Regions from separate parts of the Homo sapiens genome. Here regions 1 and 3 are each linked to region 2. The links are contacts of gene promoters, found by promoter capture Hi-C in blood cells and fetal thymus (Javierre and others, 2016). All regions are on one chromosome and are shown on one strand. Each heading gives the region's core, a stretch centred on a gene start or on the middle of the fragment in contact. The rest is flanking DNA. Distances are from core to core; before and after follow the strand shown.

What was found. Contacts are between HindIII fragments. The CHiCAGO score rates a contact against its expected background, and 5 or more counts as called.
Region 1: a fragment that was not itself captured here is called in contact with the fragment with the promoter of ACTR8 in region 2 in 1 of 17 cell types (total B cells); the score reaches 8.0 in total B cells.
Region 3: a fragment that was not itself captured here is called in contact with the fragment with the promoter of ACTR8 in region 2 in 1 of 17 cell types (activated CD4 T cells); the score reaches 9.6 in activated CD4 T cells.

The regions. Positions count from the first base shown.
Region 1 is chr3:14,667,652-14,670,372 of GRCh38, reverse strand. CCDC174 (coiled-coil domain containing 174) reads right to left here. Exons shown (of 11, transcript NM_016474.5): 9 at 2,192-2,324; 10 at 287-439. Among named protein-coding and RNA genes, the nearest start is that of C3orf20, 6.1 kb to the left of the region's middle. The HindIII fragment of the contact is 297 bases long and covers 1,140-1,436 here.
Region 2 is chr3:53,880,865-53,883,564 of GRCh38, reverse strand. It overlaps ACTR8 (actin related protein 8), which reads left to right and starts at 1,413. Exons shown (of 13, transcript NM_022899.5): 1 at 1,413-1,586. The coding sequence starts at 1,464. RefSeq lists silencers at 1,197-1,286, 1,677-1,786 and an enhancer at 1,447-1,526. The HindIII fragment of the contact is 9,111 bases long and covers 1-2,070 here.
Region 3 is chr3:23,918,800-23,921,719 of GRCh38, reverse strand. RPL15 (ribosomal protein L15) reads right to left here. Exons shown (of 4, transcript NM_002948.5): 4 at 731-2,524. The coding sequence ends at 2,219. It also overlaps a transcript of NKIRAS1 not described here. Among named protein-coding and RNA genes, the nearest start is that of RPL15, 3.1 kb to the right of the region's middle. The HindIII fragment of the contact is 2,659 bases long and covers 273-2,920 here.

The DNA of each region.
Region 1 (2,721 bases), core at 39-2,538, about 39 Mb after region 2:
AAAAATGTCCAGGGAAATTCCCCAATGGAACCATGTGTGAATCCAGGTTAGTACACTGGCATGTAGACCATTTTCAACTGAACATAAAAGAGGCTGCTAAAAACAGAGCATATGAGAACACCAAACTTTCATAATACTTTAAAGGCAGGTCCTGAGAAATGGCATTCCAAAGCTGTAAAACCACACAAGGCAGCACGAAGTTAAAACTTACCCCAAGTGCTTCTAGAAAAAAAACCATTTTCCATTCACTGGAGAGTTCTTACACCTCAGAGCCCACCTCCCTTACCTTTTCCGCGGTCCCACTCCCGGATGTGTGGCACTCCAGGCTTGGTGTCCTTCCTCTCCTGGACAATGACTTCTACTTTGCTACTCTGGGCAGCAGGACGTGGGGTTGGCACAGCCTCTGGCTCCGGTGGCAAAGGCCCAATAACATCTCCATCTATTTTTTGTAAAAGAATAAGACACTGTTATAAAAAAGCCTAAAGCTATTTTTAAAAATACAGAACATGCTAATCCTGAAAGTAAAAGTAACCATCAGTATTTATGAAGTACCTAACATGTCCCAGGCAGTGGATTAAGTCTTTTGTATACAACAGGTCATTTAATTCTTGTAACAATCCTAATAAATTCAATACTTCCATATTATCCCCATTTTATAGAGGGGGAAAATTAAGCTCAGAAATGGTACACAGGTAGAAAGTGATACGGGCTGGAGTCCTGGGCTGGGCTGGATGGATTTTAGTCTCTGTGCCCCTCACTATGCCACTCTGCTTCTCCAAACTGGCAATTGCAGGACCAGAAATCCCCAAATCACTCAACTAACATCACAATCTCAGGCGAAGCAAGCAGAGCCAAGGGGATGAACAGCTGGGGTCTGGTGTAGGCTGTTCAATTTTGGTCACATTTTTAAAATGTAAAAGAAAAATGGATTTTTAAAAAACACTGTGGTGGCGCTTCACATTTTCTGGACATGACAGATGTTCAGGAGATGGAGCAAAATTTGAGAAACAATCTGCACAGCTTAACATGTTATAGAGCGAGCATTTATCTGAAACTAAACAGATGGTTTTCAAATTCCTAAATGTTTCTGGTCTGTTTTGTTCAGACATTAGGAAATGGCCCATGGCTTCACATAAGCTTTGTGAGAGCTGGAGAGCTATACGTCCCTTCATACCCACACTCCTCCTTTTCCTTTGGGTAACAGAATGCCCCCCGGTTGCAGCTGAGCATGTGGCCACCTTGCTGGAGAGGCCATTTCCCAGCTTCTCCTACAGTGAGGTGTGGCCCACAGGACTGAGCTCTGGCCAGCAGGATGTAAATGCATAGGCTGTATGTAACTTCCCACTCACATCTCTAAAAAGGAAGGTGGCTCCCCTTCCCAGTCTCCCTGCCTACCCCTAGGCTGGATCATGAACAGGTGAGCAGGGGAGCAAGCTTTGACTATGCAGAAGAGAAAAATACTCTAGGAAATGGCAGAAACAGCAAGCCTGGAGGAAGCCTGGGACTAGATGACCATCTAGGGCAGAGCTACTCACATGCCCTGGATACCCACTCACCCACCTACCTCCAAGTTGTTAAGTAGAGAAACAGATCTCTATTTTGTTTGAGCCATTCTATGTAGGAGTCTCTAGATTGATGGCAATTTAGCCTGTACTACCACAACTCATGCAATAAGCTAGTCTGACATAGCATTTAACAGTGTTTCCAAGGGGAACCGTGCTCCAAGTTCCACATCACCAACTTCTGGAGCACAGTTCTTTGGTAAGCTTTGGCAAGCTGTCGATATTCATATTTCTAAATTCTTTTACTATGTAACTTTATGAATATAAATTTCTTTAAATATATATATAAAATAACCAATAGCAAAAAATTTAAGTCTAAAACATATATATGCAAAGCTAAACTTTATCTTAAAATATCTCTTTACTAAGTCTCAATTACAAGACTATGCCATTCTAAGATGCAACACAATGTATTGTTGCTTCATATCCTCATCTATAGCCTAAAAATATTGAATGTCATTCTGCATCACTTTGGTTATAAAAATTGCTCCTGCCAGTACCTCAAAGGTATACTGTTTGCTTAAATATAAAACTAAATGGCTAATTTTCACATTGCCAGCCCTATTAGCAAGACATCAATGGAAATAAAATTTTCCCTTTTGAAGTTCAGCAACATAGCCATGATATACCTCTATTTTCTTCTTCTGTTCCACCTTCTTTTGATTTTTTCATCTTTTTTTGTCGAAGTTTGGCAAGTCTTGCCTCTAAGATAGCCTTTCGCTTTTCCTTTATGTTTTCTCGTTTTGTTCTCTGATCTGTTGTCTGAACAGAAAATCAGAAAATTATTTGCTTGAAGCCAAATTTGCAATATTCCTGTCCAAAAAGATGAAATTTTCTTCTAAAAATAGACTAGTTAATTGATCTTCAGGCCACCTCTAAGAAGCTGTCCTTGAGATCCTCACAATGAAGCCCTATGAAGTACTCTCCTATGAACCCTCTGATGTCTTACAAAGTTTCATAAGAGTTCACAGAGCATCTTGCAAGCCTTAACACTCAAGAAAACCAACCCATTCCGTCCTACACCTTAATCCTTTAAGTAACTTTCTATTTTCCCATCCAAGCCACCCCAAAAGTACCACATTTGGGACCAGATTTAAAACATCAAAGTTACACAGGTTACTTGTGAGCAGTTATAAAATTTGAAACACAAAAATAGTAT
Region 2 (2,700 bases), core at 164-2,663:
TCTTGAGTGAATTATGCCATTTTATCCCACTTCACTCACCTGTAAAACGGGGATTAAATTTTTACCTCCAAGAGTTCTTTATTTAGTATTTAGTCATCACATGCTTATTGGGCACCTACCATGTGCTGAAGATAACTGGCAAAGTCTCACGGAGCTTACATTCTAGTGTGGGAGACAGTGAGCAGGCATGATAATTACAGACTAATGCTTCATGCTTCAAAGGGAATAGGATGATGAGAGAATAACTGCGGAAGGCCTGAGGTGACATTTGAGTTCAGACGTGAGAATGAGACAGCTGAGGGAAGAGCATCCAAGGCAAAATGAACAGCAAGTGCAACAGCCCGATGACGGGAAGGGCTTGGCATGTCTGAGAAAGATAAAACAGGTGTAGCTGGAAATGCCAAGGAATGGGGAGAGTGTTGTGAGGTGAACTTAGAAATGTAGCAATAACTAGATATGGTCTTTAGGTGGTGGTTAGTTTAGATTCTGTTCTTTGAGCAAAGGGAAACCATTAGAGTTTAAAGCATGAGTGACATCTAATTTTTGAGGTAAGTCTTAGTGGAGTGCTGGGTACATAGTAGTATTAACTACGTAATATTTTAAAACAACGTGGGCAACTATATAAGAACAGATCATAGGGGGACAGGACAAGGAGTTCGAGTTAAGAGGCTGTTGTAGTCATCCAGGTGAGATGATAGTGGCTTGGGCTAGGTAGTGGCATGGGAATGGAGAAGTGGATGAATTCAAGATCTATTTTAGAGACTGCAGGATTTACTGATGGATTGGATGTAGAAGCTGTCAACAAGTGAAGAATCAAAATGACATTTACTGAGATGGTGAAAGTGAGAGGGGAGGGAATCAAGAGTTAAATTTTGGACATATTTAAGTTTGCAGTGCCTTGTAGACAATCCAGATGGAGAGACCAAGTAGGCACTGGTTATCAGTACGGATCTCTCTGAGCGGTTCATCCTGGATATATATATTTGGGAATCGTATTCATTGCTAAAGCCAGGAAACTGGATAGTCACCCAAGGAGTGTGCCTGGAAAAGACCTAACCCCAACATCAGAGGCTGGACTGAACATGAAGACATATGAGAAAAACTAAGAGTACATATGGTATCTGGGAAGCCAGGAGAAGAGATGCCTGTGAGGACGAAATAAGATGCGGGTTATCAGCCGACCCCCACTAGGCGCTCGAAAAGCTATGTGTACTATGTTGCTGGCATCTACACAGTCAGGACTAATCACAGCAACACCCACCCAATCAATCCGCATGCACACCCCGCCCCCAGCCCCTGCGCCGGGCAGCCCCACCCCCGCCTTTTCGGAGCCCTCTGGGGCGACTCCGCGGCGGCCATCTTGACTGTGGGCAGCCGGCCGTGCGCCTGCGCGGTGGCCCTTCCATCCCGGCAGTCGTGGCTGCAGCGCTGAGGCGAGAGGTTGGTGGGTGTCTCCGGCCATAATGACCCAGGCTGAGAAGGGTGATACGGAGAACGGAAAGGAGAAGGGCGGCGAGAAGGAGAAGGAGCAGCGCGGCGTGAAGCGGCCCATCGTGCCCGCGCTGGTGCCGGAGTCGCTGCAAGAGGTGCGGCTCTGGCTGGGTTGGAACTCTTTGCCCTTGCTTGGGTCCTCCGCTGCCAGGCAAGGGGCGGGAGGCGGCGGGAGGCTTCGAGTCCCCCTTGCAGGCCCCAGCCCCTGGTGGGGGGAGTGCGGAAGCGGTCGTTCTTTTCCGGGTGGTGGCGCGCCGGGACGCCGAGGGCTGGGAGGTGCGGAGCGCCAGGAGCCAGGCGGAGCCCCCGCAGGGACACCGCTCCGATCTCCCGCACGCCCCACCGTCTGGTTGTGTGCGCTCCTGCCCGGGCTCTGGCCTCAGCTTCCCCGACCATAAAACGACCACGGTGATAACCAGCCGCCTCGCAAGTTGCCGTGAGGGTTAAATGGTGGCAGATAGAGTTTAGGACCAGGCTGGCTCACTGGGAGCGTCAGCCTGTGCTTGTTAAGGGATAGTTTGGGGTCCAGGCTTTTTCCTTTGTTAAGGAAATCTCAGATAATGGAAGTCATTTCAAGCTTAAAAGCAAGGAAATGGTGGACATTTGTCTAAATATATATTAAGAGCTTGTGTATCAAAAACAACACTATTAGACCAAACTAAACTAACCAGAAAAAATTATTTGCAGTAGCGTGCCTGGCAGAGGACCTTAGATGTATACACATACACAAAACCTTACTGATCAGTAACTAAAACAGCATTCACGTAGGAAAACGGGCACAGGCAGTGTACAATTCACAGAAGAAATGAGGCATAAACTGCTCAGAAATTCATGTAGGACATCTCTGATCCAGCTTCCTTACCGGTAGATGGGTTAAGGATAATACCTAACTAGTAGGGCAGCTACTAGTTAGTTATCACTAGTATGACAGTGCCTGGCACACCGTAAGCCCAGAGTGGCCATTACTGTTGCACAGGCCTGGTTTCTCCATCTGTCTAGTTGAGAAGGCTGACTGGATGGTCTGTAAGGGCCTTGCCAGATCCTTCCCTCTAGGATTCTCCCACTCTGTGGGGGGTGATTAGGAGGAGAGAGGTCACACTTGGAGATAGGACAACAGGTATCAGAGCATGGCATGGAATGGGCTTGTGCAGAGGGCAGTATTGGGCACTCAAGCAAGTACCTCCTCCATCCCCGACAGTCAGGGAGGGT
Region 3 (2,920 bases), core at 353-2,852, about 30 Mb after region 2:
GCCTGTAGTCCTGGCTATTTGGGAGGCCGAGGCAGAAGAATTGCTCAAACCCGGGAGACAGAGGTTGCAGTGAGCCGTGATTGCCCCACTGCACTCCCACCTGAGTGAGAGTGAGACTCCATCTGGAAAAAAAAAAAAAAAAAAAAAAACTCAATAATCAATGTTGCTGTGTGAATTACATGCCAATATAGAAATAGTAAAGCAAATGGGAACAGCTTGTGGGGCGGTCAGGGTATAGCTAATAAAGTGACCCTTAATATTGGAGTAAAGCTTTCCCATCATAAAGGCATTAGGAAGTGTTTGGTGTATTTGAAGAACAAACAGCAAGGAGCCTGGGGTGTGGACTGCAGTAGGACATGAGGTCACACATAAAGTGGGAAGATCATGAAAGCTATCATGAGGACTTTTGATTTTTTTGCACGGGAGTGCCATGATCAATTTAATAGGATCCCTTGGACTACTGTGTGGAGATAAAACTGTTGGGTAGCAAGGACAGGAACAAGGTTTTCTTGTAGAGACAATGCTGACCTTTGGCCCGAACCCTTTCTCTCCTTCCCAAATTAGTCATGTTTAAGGATTTTTTTTGTTTTTAGGTCTCACTATGCTGCCCAGGCTGGCCTCAACAAATCCTCCAGCTTGTCTCCCAAAGTGCCAGGATTACAGGCCTGAGCCACCACACCCAGCTGAACAGTTTTAGATAAAAACCTAATTCATGCAATGATCAAAGAACTGAGAGAATAAGTACATTTTATGCTATCTCAAATTATATTATTTCTATAATCACATTTTGATGCCTTTTTGCTGGTTAGGGCATTTGGTTTGCTTTAAAGTACATTAGCACTGTAAGATGACAAAAAATAACAGAAGGTCCATTTGTTTTAGTTTAATAGACATTTATTCCTTCAGTTGAACAACCTCTACACAATTAAAATGTATGACTTAAGATCTTTTCTTTTTTTGTGAAGAAATTTAGGTCTCAAGAACTTTTATGAACTTGCTATGAGTACTTCCTGGAAATCAATTAACTGAGTCTTTTGAAACCCCTAGAGAAGATAGGAGAAAATTGGTTCAGAACGAGCATTTAAATTAAGTCAGCAAAGTCAGAATTTAAAATTGGGCAATTCCTTGTCTACATTTTCTTTACACTCAAATTGACCCTGGACAACAGTAGTCTAGTCTCCTGGAAGACATGGTGCAAACAGAAATGCAATGTGGTGGTATACTCATAGTCAAAGTGGGTGCACAAGTGATGGTCCAACTTTGTGGAATGGTAAGGATTTTTAGGGTTGTTTGGCCAGAACAAGAGAAATAACTGCAGAAAACACATATGGTTGGAAACCATGCGCTTGTGACTTTTTCTGTAGCCTATGGGAGTGGACAGAGTGGGTAACCCAAGATGTTTTTAAGACTGACTGGACTAAGAATGACGTACTTATAGCCAACTACTTTCCCCCTAATGTGACTGAAGGGATTCATAATGATCACAATTAGCATTACGGTTAAGTATTTTAGGGTTGACGTCTAAGCTCACACTTGAAAGGTATTTATCTAATGGCCACTGGCTCACCAGCTTCCCACCCTAGCATTCATTGCTAGCTTACCAATCTTAAGGCTAATAATTTTATCGCACATTCAACTTCAAAACACACCAGTGTTTACCATTACCACTAATCACTGAATGCCATGAAGCCATGGCACTGAACCAGGAGCTTTCACCTTTTATGTGAATTTAAAATGGTACTGTGGAGGCTGAGGCAATTTTCTTCAGGCTAACCCAGATTTTCTAAAGCCCAACTTAAAAAGTCTACACCTGCCAAACTAAAAAAAACGCAGCCACTTGAAAATAAACCAGCAGAGCATTGCCATCACTCCGATAAAGCTGCAGGTTTCATCACATGCACCAGACAAATCTACAGGGCTAGTTTCAGTTCTCTCCTTTTAAAGAATTTATTAAGCCTGTTATACCACACAGTATGTTTTATACACTGACATACAACTCCCTAATAAGATAAAGCAAAGACAAAAAAGTTTATCTTATTAGAAACAAGATACACCACCACTTATTGTCTTCAAACATTATTGCACTTTAACTTTCTTAATTTGACAAAGCATTCAAGAAACATCTGCAGACTAGTTTTAACAGACAAATAACACCTGTAAGCAGACATGACTGTCCTAAATTGTTTATTAAGTATGAATTTTACAAACTTTACTTATATTAGCGGTAACGGTGGAGCTGGAGAGTATTGCGCCTTCTCCAAGCTGCCCGGCGAGAGCCACCAATAGTGTGGTGGAACTTGTGGCCCTTTCCAAGGCCACGGCTCTTTCGGCCTGCAGATGTCAGCCCACGCATCTCCCTGTGCTTGTGGACTGGTTTGGTGATCCACTGGGTGTCAGGATTTCTTCTGATAGCTTTATGGAATGGATCAATGAGGATAACCTCAAAAAATTTGTATGTGGAATCTTCACCAACCCAGTAAGAATTCAGGACTCTCAGAGCCCCACAGTGGCGTCCAGCTCGCTCCTAGAATAGGAAAAAAGGCCCAAGGTCAATCTCCCACATTGCCTATAGCAGCAAGTCAGAAAGAATTTTAATTCTCAACTCTAGTTCACCACCAGACAAGAGTCTTTTACTACTCAAGTTATTTACTAAGCATTTCTCCCTAGACTATCACAAGTGTAATGAGATAATGTAGACTTGCTAAAACAACACACATAGACTGAAACACATCATTCCCTCTTAATACTCCATTCCTGACTAGGGCAGGAATATGTTAATATCTGGGTAACAAAATTTAGGGTTTGGGGACCTTATCTTTTTCCATACAACTGAGAGCTCAGCAACGTTTAGCTTTAAAAATATTTAGTATATATTTTAGGCTGTGCAGGCCACATTTGGTCTCTTCTGCATATTCTTGCC